5 separate regions of the Homo sapiens genome follow, and all the other regions are linked to region 5. The links are contacts of gene promoters, found by promoter capture Hi-C in blood cells and fetal thymus (Javierre and others, 2016). All regions are on one chromosome and are shown on one strand. Each heading gives the region's core, a stretch centred on a gene start or on the middle of the fragment in contact. The rest is flanking DNA. Distances are from core to core; before and after follow the strand shown.

The links. The method cuts DNA at HindIII sites, captures the fragments that hold promoters and counts their contacts. A CHiCAGO score of 5 or more calls a contact.
Region 1: a contact is called between a fragment that was not itself captured here and the fragment with the promoter of GTF3C6 in region 5, in 1 of 17 cell types (M2 macrophages). The highest score is 5.3, in M2 macrophages.
Region 2: a fragment that was not itself captured here is called in contact with the fragment with the promoter of GTF3C6 in region 5 in 1 of 17 cell types (M2 macrophages); the score reaches 5.8 in M2 macrophages.
Region 3: a fragment that was not itself captured here is called in contact with the fragment with the promoter of GTF3C6 in region 5 in 5 of 17 cell types (M2 macrophages, M1 macrophages, M0 macrophages and 2 more); the score reaches 14.3 in M2 macrophages.
Region 4: a contact is called between a fragment that was not itself captured here and the fragment with the promoter of GTF3C6 in region 5, in 6 of 17 cell types (erythroblasts, M1 macrophages, fetal thymus and 3 more). The highest score is 7.0, in erythroblasts.

The regions. Positions count from the first base shown.
Region 1 is chr6:110,582,326-110,585,025 of GRCh38, reverse strand. All of the region lies in intron 1 of LOC105377941 (a long non-coding RNA gene), which reads right to left. Among named protein-coding and RNA genes, the nearest start is that of SLC22A16, 110 kb to the right of the region's middle. The HindIII fragment of the contact is 4,551 bases long and covers 1-2,700 here.
Region 2 is chr6:111,227,918-111,230,617 of GRCh38, reverse strand. It overlaps SLC16A10 (solute carrier family 16 member 10), which reads right to left. Exons shown (of 6, transcript NM_018593.5): 6 at 1-2,700. It overlaps SLC60A2-DT (SLC60A2 divergent transcript), which reads left to right. Exons shown (of 3, transcript XR_001743807.2): 3 at 2,695-2,700. Among named protein-coding and RNA genes, the nearest start is that of SLC60A2-DT, 30 kb to the left of the region's middle. The HindIII fragment of the contact is 2,317 bases long and covers 123-2,439 here.
Region 3 is chr6:110,470,392-110,473,091 of GRCh38, reverse strand. All of the region lies in intron 1 of SLC22A16 (solute carrier family 22 member 16), which reads left to right. Among named protein-coding and RNA genes, the nearest start is that of SLC22A16, 4.9 kb to the left of the region's middle. The HindIII fragment of the contact is 1,639 bases long and covers 631-2,269 here.
Region 4 is chr6:110,550,193-110,552,892 of GRCh38, reverse strand. It overlaps LOC105377939 (a long non-coding RNA gene), which reads right to left. Exons shown (of 3, transcript XR_942862.3): 2 at 2,181-2,577. Among named protein-coding and RNA genes, the nearest start is that of SLC22A16, 75 kb to the right of the region's middle. The HindIII fragment of the contact is 1,109 bases long and covers 712-1,820 here.
Region 5 is chr6:110,957,407-110,960,106 of GRCh38, reverse strand. It overlaps GTF3C6 (general transcription factor IIIC subunit 6), which reads right to left and starts at 1,401. Exons shown (of 6, transcript NM_138408.4): 1 at 1,281-1,401; 2 at 855-935. The coding sequence starts at 1,337. RefSeq lists an enhancer at 1,079-1,528. The HindIII fragment of the contact is 8,604 bases long and covers 1-2,700 here.

The DNA of each region.
Region 1 (2,700 bases), core at 45-2,544, 370 kb after region 5:
ACTCATCCTTTTTTATGGCTACATAGTATTTCATGGTGTATATGTGCCACATTTTCTTAATCCAGTCTATCATTGATGGACATTTGGGTTGGTTCCAAGTTTTTGCTATTGTGAACAGTACCGCAATAAACATGCATGTGCATGTGTCTTTATAGTAGCATGATTTATAATCCTTTGGGTATATACTCAGTAATGGGATGGCTGGGTCAAATGGTATTTCTAGTTCTAGATCTTTGAGGAATTGCCACACTGTCTTCCACAATGGTTGAACTAGTTTACACTCAGTGGGAGGATTTCTTGAGCCCAGGAGTTCAAGACCAGCCTGGGCAACATAGTGAGACCCTGTCTCTACAAAAAACAAACAAATCAGCTGGGTATCATGTTACATGCCTGTAGTCCCATCTACCTGGGGCTGAGGTAAGAGGATCACTTGAGCTTGGGAGGTCAACGCTGCAGGAGGCCATGATGATGGCACTGTACTCTGTCCTGGGCGACAGAGCACAACCCTTTCTCACTAACAGTTTCTGAATTATGGAGAGATCAAGTAGGGAGAAAAAAGGGATTGTTTCAATTATGTTACAAAGGTATAATTTACCAAATTCTTGTAAACTATAGATAGATTTTAAAAATCCCTTAAATCTGAAATACAAATATGCAAAAGATAATTTTAAAAAATTACTGCTGGATGTGGTGGCATATGCCTGTAGTCCCAGCTACTCAGGAGGCTGAGATGGAAAGACTGCTTGAGCCGAGGAGTTTGAGTCGAGCCAGCTTGGGCAACATGTCTCTAAAACAAAAACAAAACAAAACAAAAACTGAATTATTTCTCTCTCTCTCTCTTTTTGAGACAGTCTTGCCCTGTCACCCAGGCTGGAGTGCAGTGGCACAATCGTGGCTCACTGCAACCTCCGCCTTCAGGATTTAAGTGGTTCTTATGCCTCAGCCTCCTGAGTAACTGGGATTACAGGCATGTACTAGCATTCCCAGCTAATTTTTTGTATTTTTAGTAGAGACAGGGTTTTGCTGTGTTGGCCAGGCTGGTCTTGAACTCCTCGGCTCAAGTGATCTGCCTGCCTCAGCCTCCCAAAATGCTGGGATTACAGGCATGAGTCACTGCACCCAGCCTGATTCTTTTTCATCAGTTCATTTAGTTCCACATAATTAATTCTCATTTTGCTTGATGTTGGGCTAGCAACTTATGAACCAATTTGTTTCTTCATAAGAGTTCTGGAAGTTCTTTTTTTTTTTTTTTTTTTTTTTTTTTGAGACAGAGTCTCACACTGTTGCCCAGGCTGGAGTGCAGTGGTGCAATCTTGGCTCACTGCAACCTCCGCCTCCCGGGTTCAAGCGATTCTCCTGCCTCAGCCTCCCAAGTAGCTGGGATTACAGGCGCCCACCACCACGCCCAGCTAATTTTTTTTTTTGTATTTTTAGTGGAGACAGGGTTTCACCATGTTGGCCAGGCTGATCTCGAACTCCTGACCTTGTGATTCACCTGCCTCGGCCTCCCAGAGTGCTGGGATGACAGGTATGAGCCACCACACCCGGCCACTAGAGTTCTGGAAGTTCTTACTCAGTCCAATAGTATATTCCTAGGAAATTTATGGAAAGAACTCTGACAAGTACAGGTTTCCGGTAACATAGGAATATACTATTGGACTGTGTAAGAACTTAGAGTTCTGGAAGTTCTTATCCTTAGAGATACACTATTTTAGGATTATAGCTGCTTGCAAAACCTTTCAGGAGAGCATCAGAGTGAAACAATTTACTGTCTATGGATGACAAGACTTAAAATGGTCATGGTTGCGGTGGCTCACACCTGTAATCCCAGCACTCTGGGGGCCGAGGCGGGCAGATCACGAGGTCAGGAGATTGAGACCATCCTGGCTAACATGGTGAAACCCCGTCTCTACTAAAAATACAGAAAATTAGCCGAGTGTGGTGGCGGGCGCCTGTAGTCCCAGCTACTGCAGTGAGCTGAGATGGCGCCACTGCACTCCAGCCTGGGCGAGAGAGTGAGATTCCATCTGAAAAAAAAAAAAAAAAAAGGTCATGGTTAAAGATCTAATGAGAGTTTATTATGATAATGACACAACTGACAGGTAAAATCATTATTTCTGTGACATACAACATTTTAACATAATAACCAGAATTATGACTGATAACATTATGCCAGGACATATCAGACTTCTCGGAATTTCACATAATTTCTGGAACACGTAAACACTCAATCATGATTGCTTATTTGACAATGTTTATTCTGCAAATTTAATGTATCAATTAAGCCTAATTAGCTTAACATTTCTCTTTTATAAGAAGACCTTCCAGGGCCCCTGGGAGGTTCCAAAGTCAATGTGGGGTAAAAAAGGCTTAATTTTAAGAATTTGATTTTGGAAAGTTTGTCAAAAATACCAAAATGTTTGTCAATATTAATAGCAATGTTAAAGGTTTGATTTTTATCAATATCAAAGGCTTGGTTTGGAAAGTTTGTCAAAAATATCAAAACACTTCATTAACTAGGATCACAGATCATTATGGGACAGTACCAGAATGACAAAGGATTTTAAAGACAAATACAGAAAAGTTACACAGTTGAAAAAAAAAAATTTAACATTGAGAATGCTCTGTTTTCTTAATTAAAAGTTCTAATAAAAGACAAAATGGGCAATACAAAATATCTTCTACAACTTCTTCATTATG
Region 2 (2,700 bases), core at 32-2,531, 270 kb before region 5:
TTATCAAGCATTGTGCAATGCCTCTACAATCTTACACATCTCAAACCACATTAAGTTACATCAGAAGTTATTATTAGAGTGATGTTTAATCTCACCCTAATGTAACTTCTGATTAGCAAGCTTCCATTCTCTCTGCCAAATATAACTCATGTTAACGTAGAAAAGTGTTATCATTAGTTACCAGAGCAAATCCAGTGTACTGGATTGTGAATGCATAGTCTTTCTAATTAGGAAAATGAGAGTGTGTATTGTCTTCTTAATTTACATTTATAAAATCCTCATAAAATACAGTTAAGTCAGGGTCTTTTAAAAGAGAAGAATTCAACTGAAACCTGTCATTCTCTAGCCGGGCATGGTGGCTCATGCCTGTAATTCCAGCACTTGGGGAGGCTGAGGCAGGTGGATCACTTAAGGCCAGTCTGGCCAACATGGTGAAACTCCATCTCTACCAAAAATACAAAAATTAGCCGGTGTGGTAGTGGGCACCTGTAGTCCCAGCTACTCAGAAGACTGAGGCACGAGAATCACTTGAGCCCGGGAGGCGGAGGTTGCAGTGAGCTGAGATCGCGCCACTATATGGAGCCTGGCAATAGAGCAAGACTCCATCTCAAAAAAAAAAAAAAAAAAGAAACAAAGAAAGAAAAAGAAACCTGTCATTCTCAATTCATCTGAATCCTACCTACAGAACATTAAAGAGACCCGTATGTCTCGAACTCCTGGCCTCAAGCAATCCGCCTGCCTTGGCCTCCCAAAGTGCTGGGATTACAGGTGTGAGCCACGGCGCCTGGCCAAGGAGACCCATATGTTATTTTACTTAGGTGTTACACAATCAGACCAACGATGGTGCTGAGAGCCCTTGATAAATCATAGACCTGAGATTTGCTGACAGTGACCCAGCCGCAGTACTTATTGTTTATGTTAAATCTGAAAGACAAACAATGATACTTTCAGTGATAAATTTCAAATAATTATAAAAATATAACTGTGCAAATAACTCATTATCCATGTTTTAAGATTGATGACTCTCAAAACTCTGATTTTAGCCTGAAAGTTGCGAAATAGTTTCAAATGTCCAAATGTCTACATAAGCCAGCTCAATAGGAAGCTATTATATATAACTTTTTCACATTGCCTCAAAGTTACAGAATATATTTAAATCCCTCACTTTGTGCTAGAAACATTGACAAGGGACTTTTTCTTTAAAATTATTACCTTGGGAGGTTGTGTTCATTAGAACATTCTCATTTGGTGATCATTTTCTTGTGAGTTTCGTAATTTAAAGTCTTATATGTTAACAAAAATTGCATACCTCTAACTAGATACTGGAACTCAATAATCACTGTATAGGTGAGCTTTTTTCCTCAGTCATGTATATAACATGCAACATGCATAACGTTGCTGGCTGTATACATTTTCTATTGTGTTGTATATTAATATTTTTAAAAGAAAAATAATTTTGAAAGGAACATGAAGTATAGCACCAATCTTGATCTAATAATCTTTGGTAGAAAAAAAAGAGGCACCAACTATACAGTCTGTTCATAGTCCAGGGTCAAAATGCAGCACTATTTTTTTTTTTTTTTTTTTTGAGACAGAGTTTTGCTCTTGTTGCCCAGGCTGGAGTGCTATGGTGCAATCTTGGCTCACTGCAACCTCCACCTCCTGGGTTCAAGCAATTCTCCTGCCTCAGCCTCCCGAGTAGCTGGGATTACAGCATGGAGCCACCACGCCCGGCTAATTTTGTATTTTTGGTAGAGATGGGGTTTCTCCATGTTGGTCAGGCTGGTCTCCAACATCTGACCTCAGGTGATTCGCCTGTCTCGGCCTCCCAAAGTGCTGGGATTACAGGCATGAGTCACCGTGCCCGGCCCAGCACTATTAATAACAAACCCTCCATTCCTGAAATAACATTTCAATATAGACTGAATTATGAAAGATACTTTGACTCATTAGGGAAGATCACAGTAGAAAGGTTTTGTGTTTACACATTTAAAATATTTAACAAACTGACTCTTCTAATGACGGATACTGAAAAATATCTAGTAAAGAATAAAAGTCATACATCACAGGCTCCAAAATAGTATTACCAATCTAATTTGAGTTCTAAGTGTTATTTTATATTGGTAGTTCCTATCGCATACATGTTTAGGGACATTGAACTCCAAAATACTCTTTTTATAGCACTCATATTGAAAGGCAAAGCAACTTCTTTGGGTAGACTGGGTTAACTCCTACACTATTGCCACACTCAAGAACAGCATTTTAAAAAACTCCAGTGAGTCAAAAATTCATTGTCCCAGTCCTTGTTCTACTAGGAAGGAGTGTCTCTTACAGGAGTTTAATGTGTAAGTTGTCAGGTTTGGGCACAGCTGTACAATCTGTCATCACTGATCATCTACCCTCTTGCCAATGAAAACAAAACTTTTTCATAATCAAGCTTCCAGTGTAACTTGAAAAGCCACTGGCGAAGCATTCTAAGTGTTCATTAGAATCTGAGTGTGTCTAATTTAGAATCTAAGTGTATCTAGATTCTGAATTTCTTCAGGTTTTTCTTTGTCAGATCCACAGGCCATATTAGTTGTTATTCCTTTTTTGTTACTTTTACATCCGTTTATCAGAACAAAGCACTTAAGAAATTTTACTGATATTTTGACCCCACTAACAATTTGCACCCCCCTTGCTTTTTAATCCCAGAATCAC
Region 3 (2,700 bases), core at 201-2,700, 490 kb after region 5:
AAAGCCCATAGTTTAGATGAGGAAACTGAGGCACAGAAAGGCTAAGGATCTTGCTCATGGTCCCTGGTGGTAAGTAACAGGGCCAAGATCAAACCTTGGCAGTCTGGCTCCAGAGTCCATGCTCTTAGCCATGATGGACTCCACCAGTTATGCTTTTATATGGAATGGTATAATCTAGGACTGAAAGCAGTTTTCTTCATCCGTCACTCAGATTGCATGGGTCCATTCCCTGGGGCTTCTGGCCGCCCTTGCTTTTCCTCGCCTCTGGGTTTTCTGCCGATTGTGTTTGTGTGATTATTTTTCCATTAGAGTGTCATATCTATAAGCCTGTTGTCCTGGTGGACCCCTAGGTTGGGTACATGCATGACACCTCTGAGGGCCAAGAATCTTTGTAAAAGAGAGAGTGATGTGTTAGAATGCTAGACGCCTAAGGAAATGGGGCTTGGTTTTTTTTCAAGAGGTTATTCTTGCAAAAGGGAAAGGGAAATTTGAATTGAAGGAGTGCTTAGGACCTTTCTAGCACATGGAAAGTGTGTTTATGTGAACTAGCATGGCTTGATTGGGGGCCACTTAGTGGTTTATTATTTTGGGGGTATAAAATATGAGAGTGAGAGAGGCAGGAGGTAAGCTTACAGTCATCTCCATGAGTGTTTTTGCAAAGTTTGGGTATCAGAAGTTTGGGTTTTGCAGTGCAGAGGGTGGATTGGAGGGGCAGCGAGTGGGGCAAGGGGGCCAGTGAAGACCTAGATAAGAGCCCAGGTGAGAGAGAAAGAGGGTCTGGAGAGTGGGAGTGTGGGCAGGGAGAACCAGACAGTTTTAGCAGGTGGAGTTGATGGGAGCTCTTGGCCCTAAGGCATGAAGGAGAAGTGAATGGGACCACATGCCCCTCCTAGCCCACCCCATGTCCCATGCCCTGGATTTCTAGTTTGTGTGGGTGATGGTAGCCTAAACTCAGAAAGTTACCCTCCAGGCGGGGCAGGCCTAGATATCGAGCTCAGTTTGAGATTGGTTTACCTTGAGTTCCTTGTGGGAATTCCAGGTGGAGACATCAAGTGGGAAGTTGGGTAGATAATCTGTTGCTCAGGGAAAATGCCCCCTTGTCAATATGGATCAGGTGGCCACCCAGGGCTGCAGTCCAGCTGGACCAGTGCCTTGTGGACAGATTAGGCATGCCTGGCACCTGTTCCAGCTGTGCCTCAGCAGGGGTGTTGCTGAATAGTTTTCCCTCTCCCTGGGCGCTGTAGATAGAAAACTTTTAAATTGATATATTACATATATGCAGAAAAGTGTCCACCATAATCTACAGCCTGATGAGTTGTCATACAGTGAACACACCTGTGTTACCCCCACCCAAATCATCTCCTCTTATGCCTTCTCCCAAGCCCTACTCCGTCCCTGTCCCCCAAGCTCACTACTGTCCTTACATCAACGATACTAAATGTTACATAAGTGGGGTAAAAGGCACTTGCCCTTTGGCTTCTTTTGTTCCACACTGTGTTTGTGAGATCCACCCATATTGTGTGTCACAGAGGTTAGTCGATTTTCACAGCTACATAGTATTTAATGGCACAAATATTTCACGGTTCATTCATTTACTGTCAACAGACGTTTAGACTGTGTCCAGGTTGGGCTTATATGAGTTGCCTTTCTTGCATTTGTCTTTTAGGGTAGGGTTATATTTTGCTTAACGACAGAGATACTTCTGAGAAGTTCATCGTTAGGTGATTTTGTTGTTCTGCAAACATCACAGATTTTATTTACACAAGCCTAGATGGTACAGCCTGCTACACATTTAGGCTCTATGGTATAGCCCACTGCTCCTAGACTACAAACCTGCACAGCATGTTATTGTACTGAATACTGTAGGCAATTGTAACACAATGGGAAGTATTTGTGTACCTAAACATGGAAAGGGTGTGGTAAAAATATGATATTAATATTATAATCTTATGGGACCACTGTTGTATATGTGGTTCATCATTGACCGAAACGTCGTTTTGTGGCATGTGGCTCTACCTGTGTATGCATTTCGCTGGGTAGATACCTAGGAGATGCTGTCACAGGCGGTGCATGTGGTCCCCTGCCAGAGAGTTTTGCAAAATGGTTATAACAAATGTCACCCTCACAAGCTGTTTATTGGTTTTTCAGTTGCTCCACAACAATTGTCCAGTATTTTGAATGTCAAACCTTGTACCAGTACATAGTTTAACCAGAAAACTAGATATCCTGGGGCAATGTTTTCATCCGTATCAGCATCTCCTAAGAAGCTTCTTAAGCTTGTAGGGGCCTTGACCCCACCTTAGACCTCCTGAATCACGATTGCTAAGAGGGGGACAGAAAAGACAAATCCTAGCTTCAGAGGCCTGCCAGGGTGGGTGCTGTGTTGGTGTATGTGTGTGTGTGCACAAGAGAAAAAGACACAAAGAGAGAAGGAGAGGGGAAGAGAGAGAGAGAATAGTTCTGGTGATGTGGTGATGACTGTGGGGGTCACTGGCTGAGGAAGAAAAAAACTGAGGCCAGGAAGGTAGAAACTAACTGAAGAAGCTGGTAGGATCTGAAGACTGGACGCCTGAATGGTGCTGGAAATGGGGTCAGTGGGAAGGATGGGGGAAGTAAGAGGGTGGGAGGTCATGCTCAGAACCTGAGCTTTTCAGTGGTGGAGCTGTTCCAGGTAGAGACTAGTTAGGGAACAAACCCAAA
Region 4 (2,700 bases), core at 17-2,516, 410 kb after region 5:
GTTTGTTTGTTTTTTAAAGAATATCCAGGCCAGGCATGGTGGCTCACACCTATAATCCCAGCACTTTGGGAGACCGAGGAAGGTGGATCACTTGAGGTTAGGATTTTGAGACCAGACTGGCCTCAAACATGGTGAAACTCTGTGTCTTCTAAAAATACAAAAATTAGCCAGGTGTGGTGGGGGAGGTGCTGTAGTCCCAGTTACTCAGGAGGCTGAGGCAGGAGAATCGTTTGAACCTGGGAGGAAGAGGTTATACTGAGCTGAGATTACGCCACTGAACTCCAGCCTGGGAGACAAAGTGAGACTCCGTCTCAAAAAAATAAAAAGAAAAAGAATATCCAGCACTCAGCAAGATAAAATTCAAGCAAGAGAAACATGAAGGAAATTATAACAAGACACATCATAATCAAATTGCTCAATACCAGTGATAAAGAGAAAATCTTAAAATTAACAACAGGAAAAAAATTATGTTAGAAACAGGAGAACAAAGATAAGAATGGCAGCAGAGTTCATGTCAGAAGCAAGCAAGTGAGAAGACAGAGGAACAATAATCTTTAAAGTAATCAGAGAAAAATATTGTCAACCTAGAATTCTAGGTTTTTGGGTGTTTTTTTTTTTTTGTCTTTCACATGAAATGGCCACTAATTCTATACCCAGCAAAAATGTCTTTCAAAAACAAATGCAAAATACTTTTTCAAACATACAAAAGCTTAAAAAATGATCCTCTGAGGACCTATACTATAAGAAATGTTAAGGGATGTCCTTCAAGCAGAAGGACAATGATACCAGATAAAATTCTGGCTCTACAAAAAGAATGAAGAGTTCTGGAAGTGGAACTTCAACTACTCTAAACATGCAACAAGCTATGAATGGGGAGTCTTTCTGTGGAGGCTTCCAGGACCCAAAAGTGAGGACAGAGAAGTACTCTTTGCCTGAGCTGACACCCACCAGAGCTGAGAACCAAGGATTCCTAAGAGGTGACATATGTGGCTGTGTTACCGCCAACTCCACCTTCTACCCAGTAAGACTGGGAAGGAGGGAGAGAGAGAAATAAGTCTAAGGGTCACTGGAGCACAGGACGTGTGAGGAGAGGGGACTTCCTGCCCTTCCTGTGGTTATGGGAAATGGGGTGGCTGTGCTTTCCTCCCTAGTAAGGTTCTAATAAAATGATTCCACAAATATTGGAATGTAAAGTAGCTCCCCTGTTGGACATTTGATTAGGAAAAGGATTTGCTGGCTTATTCATACATCATTAGGGATAGAGGAGGGTCTTGGAGAAAGAAGAAAGGGCACAAAGAAGAGCTGCAGGGGCAGTCTGAACTCACCCAGTTGGTCAGGGCCAGAAAACGCATTTCCTGCAGTTCAAGTGGATGCTACTTAGAAGGCAGCTGGATTTGTTCCATCCCTACCCCAACAGGGTTCTCTCTCCTATTTACCGGGGAGCTCAAAGAGTCCGTAGAGTACATATCCAGTCATGGGAGTTGAGGGGCATGGAGGTGGTTGAGCCTGGATTTACCATATCCGTGCCCTGCAAGTCTCTCTAAAAGAACCCAGATGTGTCTTCCAGAGAAGGCTAGCACGTCGATGCCTGCCTCACAGCCAGTCCCAGTGGGACACCGCTAGAGAGAAGGCTACCACTAGAGAGAAGGCTACCACTAGAGAGAAGGCTACCGCTGCCCTGTTAGTTTACGACCCTCTGCCCTTTCTCTGTCCTACCTCTCAGCCCAGCGCACTAGAGGAACTATTTCCCAAAGCGGAAAGCGAGAGTGGAGGAGTGTCCCAGAAATAGACCTCCCTCATTCAGGGTCCAGGTCCAAGCTTGCACTGGACCGGGAGAGGGCAGTGGCGCTGGGAGATGAGGTGAGAGTAGAATCGTTTGGAATTAATGTTTTAAAGTGGACTGAGGGTTAATACCTGAAAACAGTGGTAAAATTTTGGACCCGCCCAAGATGTAATTAACAGATCTGCTACCCTCTGGATAAGGTTGAGCACATTTGAAAGGGCTTCAGAAAATGAAAAAGCCTTTTCTGTCTTTAAGAAAACAAACAAACAAAAAAAAACAAAACAAAAGAACAAAAAACCTGTCTTCCCCCAACAGGCACAATTACATTTGTAAAGATGGTTCCCAGCAGATGGTGAGGTGCTAATGAGTCCCAGGAGGGGCTCAGGAGAAAACTCACCTTCACCACCTTGCTCCTGGTGACTCCCAGCACACCTGGTCCAGCCTTTCCTCTGCAGCTGTTTTTTAGTGCATGGCCTGTCCTCCTGGAAGGAAAACTGGAGAGCGTGACCTGATCCAGGGAGCAAAGGCTTCATGTGCCCTGTGGCCTTTTTCAGCATGGTTAGCGGGGTGGGACTCTGGGCCCACTCTCAGGTTTGGGGCCATCACTAGGTCCTGGCAGCTGCAGTCCAGGCTGGCCCCACAGGAGGCCACAGGCGGTGGCTCCACCTGAGGAGAAGGTGGCATGTGGGTACCCCACCTGGCTCTCCCGGGAAGGGCCCTTGGCAACATCCGCAGCAGCTTGGCTCCACCCCAGTTGCAGTCTTGACATTTGGTTATTTTCTATTCTTTTTACTCTGCAAATAATACATGTTCGTTATACAATCAGGTAGAATGTACAAATAAGCAAATAAATAAACAAATACTTCTCATAATCTCACTACCAAACAGCCACTGTTAATAACATTTTTGTGTATTTC
Region 5 (2,700 bases), core at 152-2,651:
GTGTCTAGCTCTGTCACCCAGGCTGGAATGCAGTGGCATGATCATGTTCAGGCAATCCTCCCACCTCAGCCTCCTGAGCAGCAGGGACCACAGGCGCATGCCACCATCCCCAGCTAATTTATTATTATTATTATTTTTTTTTTTTATTGAGATGGAGTTTTGCCCTTTGTTGCCCAGGCTGGAGTACAGTGGCGCGATCTCGGCTCACTGCAACCTCTGCCTCCAGGGATCACGCGATTCTCCTGTCTCGGCCTCCCGAGTAGCTGGGATTACAGGCGCCCACCACCATGCCTGGCTAATTTTTGTATTTCAGTAGAGACGGGGTTACACCATGTTGGCCAGGCTGGTCTCGAACTCCTGGGCTCGTGATCTACCCGCCTCGGCCTCCCAGTATTGGGATTACAGGCGTGAGCCACCGCGCCTGGCCATTTTTTTTTATTATTATTTTAGAGAAGGGGTCTCGTTATGTTGCCTAGGATGGTCTCCAATTCCTGGGCTCAAGTGATCCTCCCACCTCTGCCTCCCAAAGTGCTGAGAATACAGGAATATATGTACGGTTCCATATCACAATGTTACTTCCTCCAAATCTGTAACTTTCTCTTCAGCCACACATTCAAACAGGCAAGCAAAGTTAGCCATTTTCTCCTATCTGCTCCCATAGTCCCCGCTGTACTTCTACATTATACTTAATTACATATTAATTAATTATACTTAGTATACTTCTTATCCTTAGAGTTCACTACTTTGTAAGGTGAAATAAATATATCAATACTTGCGGATAGGTATTTCACCATTGATTCTTGTTTTACATTTAAGACACTCTAGAACAATCCCCCCAAGTCTAGAAAACTCACCAAAACCTTGCATTTATTTTCACATTTTGAGAGGAAGTCTGAATCAATAATTCCTGATAATTCCACCAGAACCAACTGCTCCTGGTGAAAGAAAGAGGGGTTAACATGCTAGCACGCGAGCGGCCAAGAGGGAGCAATTAGCAAAAGAAGCCAAATTTCCCACATTTGTGAAAACCGGACCCTGTTTTCAGCAAGAGGAAACTACGCTACCTAAGGTAACTTCCCGGTACTTCCCATCCCAAGTACGGGGTGACGATTAGGGCTAAGGTCCCAAGCTGCCCGGCTCCTCGCGCCCAGGAGCAAGAAGCCGGTGAGGAGCAGTGGGGCCTCCCTCCGGCCCGCAGCTCCCCAACTCCCTTCCCCACACACAGCCAGCACAGGCATCACCGCCACTGCGGTGCAGGCTTTTGGCGTAGCGCTTACTACCTCCTCTTCCTCGTCTTCTCCGTCCTCTGGACTCCGCTCGTCCGCCGCCGCCGCCATGGTCCCGCGGCGCCTCGCCTTCTAGTCACTGGCCACGCCCGCCCGGAGCCGCCATCTTGAGTACGGGCTTCAGCTCCGAGGCGAAGCAGCTTATTGGGTTCCTGCCGCTCCGCTCCTCGCCGCGCAAATTGCTTCTGCCAGAACTCGAGATGTCGGCTTCCGGCGGGCGGGTGGCTACGGGCGCCGAGAGCGCCGGTACCCACGTGGAGACTCGCCACGGGCCTCCTCGTTTCTCGGTGCCTCAGAGCAGGGGCTGGGGGTGGGCTGCCGTAGGCAGCGGAGCCCGCTCGGTCACGCAAGAGTCGCCGGGCTCTCGGCCCCGCTGGCGGGGAGGACTGGCAAGGCAGAAGGGATAAAGGCGAAAACAAGGAAACCATGGTTTCAGGCGGATCATGGACAGAAAGGCCTTGTGTTTGACCCGAGCACATTTCTTGGAAAGAAATTCTTAATATTGTGTGAGCGCTCATCCTCAATTCAACGTACCCCAAGCCAAGTTAAAGGCACATTCAGTTTAATACTAATGAGCGCCTACACAGTAAAAAGCACTGCACCAGGAGCTATGAAAAATAGAAAGTGGGCTTAAGTTTCAGGCCTGCAGGAGCATAAGATCTGTGAGAGGTACATAAATGGATCCAAGCAAGTGCTGTAAGAGATACACATTGTTATAGGAACACAGAGACCTGGGCAAGAGAAGTTTGAACAGAATTTTCAGAAGTATCCCATAGATGTTTGTGATTGTGAAAGAAACGGTCTTCGTACTTGCGATAGCGTGATCTAGTGGTTAAGATCGTGAGTTTTGGATTTTTATTTATTTATTTATTTGGAGATGGAGTTTTGCTCTTGTTACCCAGGCTGGAGTGCAATGGTGCAATCTCGGCTCACTGCAGCCTCCACCTCCCGGGTTCAAGCGATTCTCCTGCCTCAGCCTCCCGAGTAGCTGGGATTATAGGCATGCGCCACCACGCCCGGCGAATTCTGTTATTTTTAGTAGAGACGGGGTTTCTCCATGTTGGTCAGGCTGGTCTCGAACTCCCGACCTCAGGCGATCCCCCTGCCTGGGCCTCCCAAAATGCTGGGATTACAGGTGTGAGCCACCGTCCCCAGCCTGAGCTTTGGATTTTAATACCAGTCAAGTTCTGCTGCATTATTAACAGCAAGGCTTTGGGCAGATTGGTGGTTGTGAGGATTAAATGAGACAATACATATAAAATAAATTTAGCCCAGTATTCAGCACATAGTAAGCATTTAAAGTGCATTTAATCTATTATTAGTAGTAATATATAAATTTTTTAGTATGATGCTCTTTCTCTCTTTCTTTTATTCATTGTTTGTTTCTTTCTTTCTCTCTTTCTTTCCTTTCTTT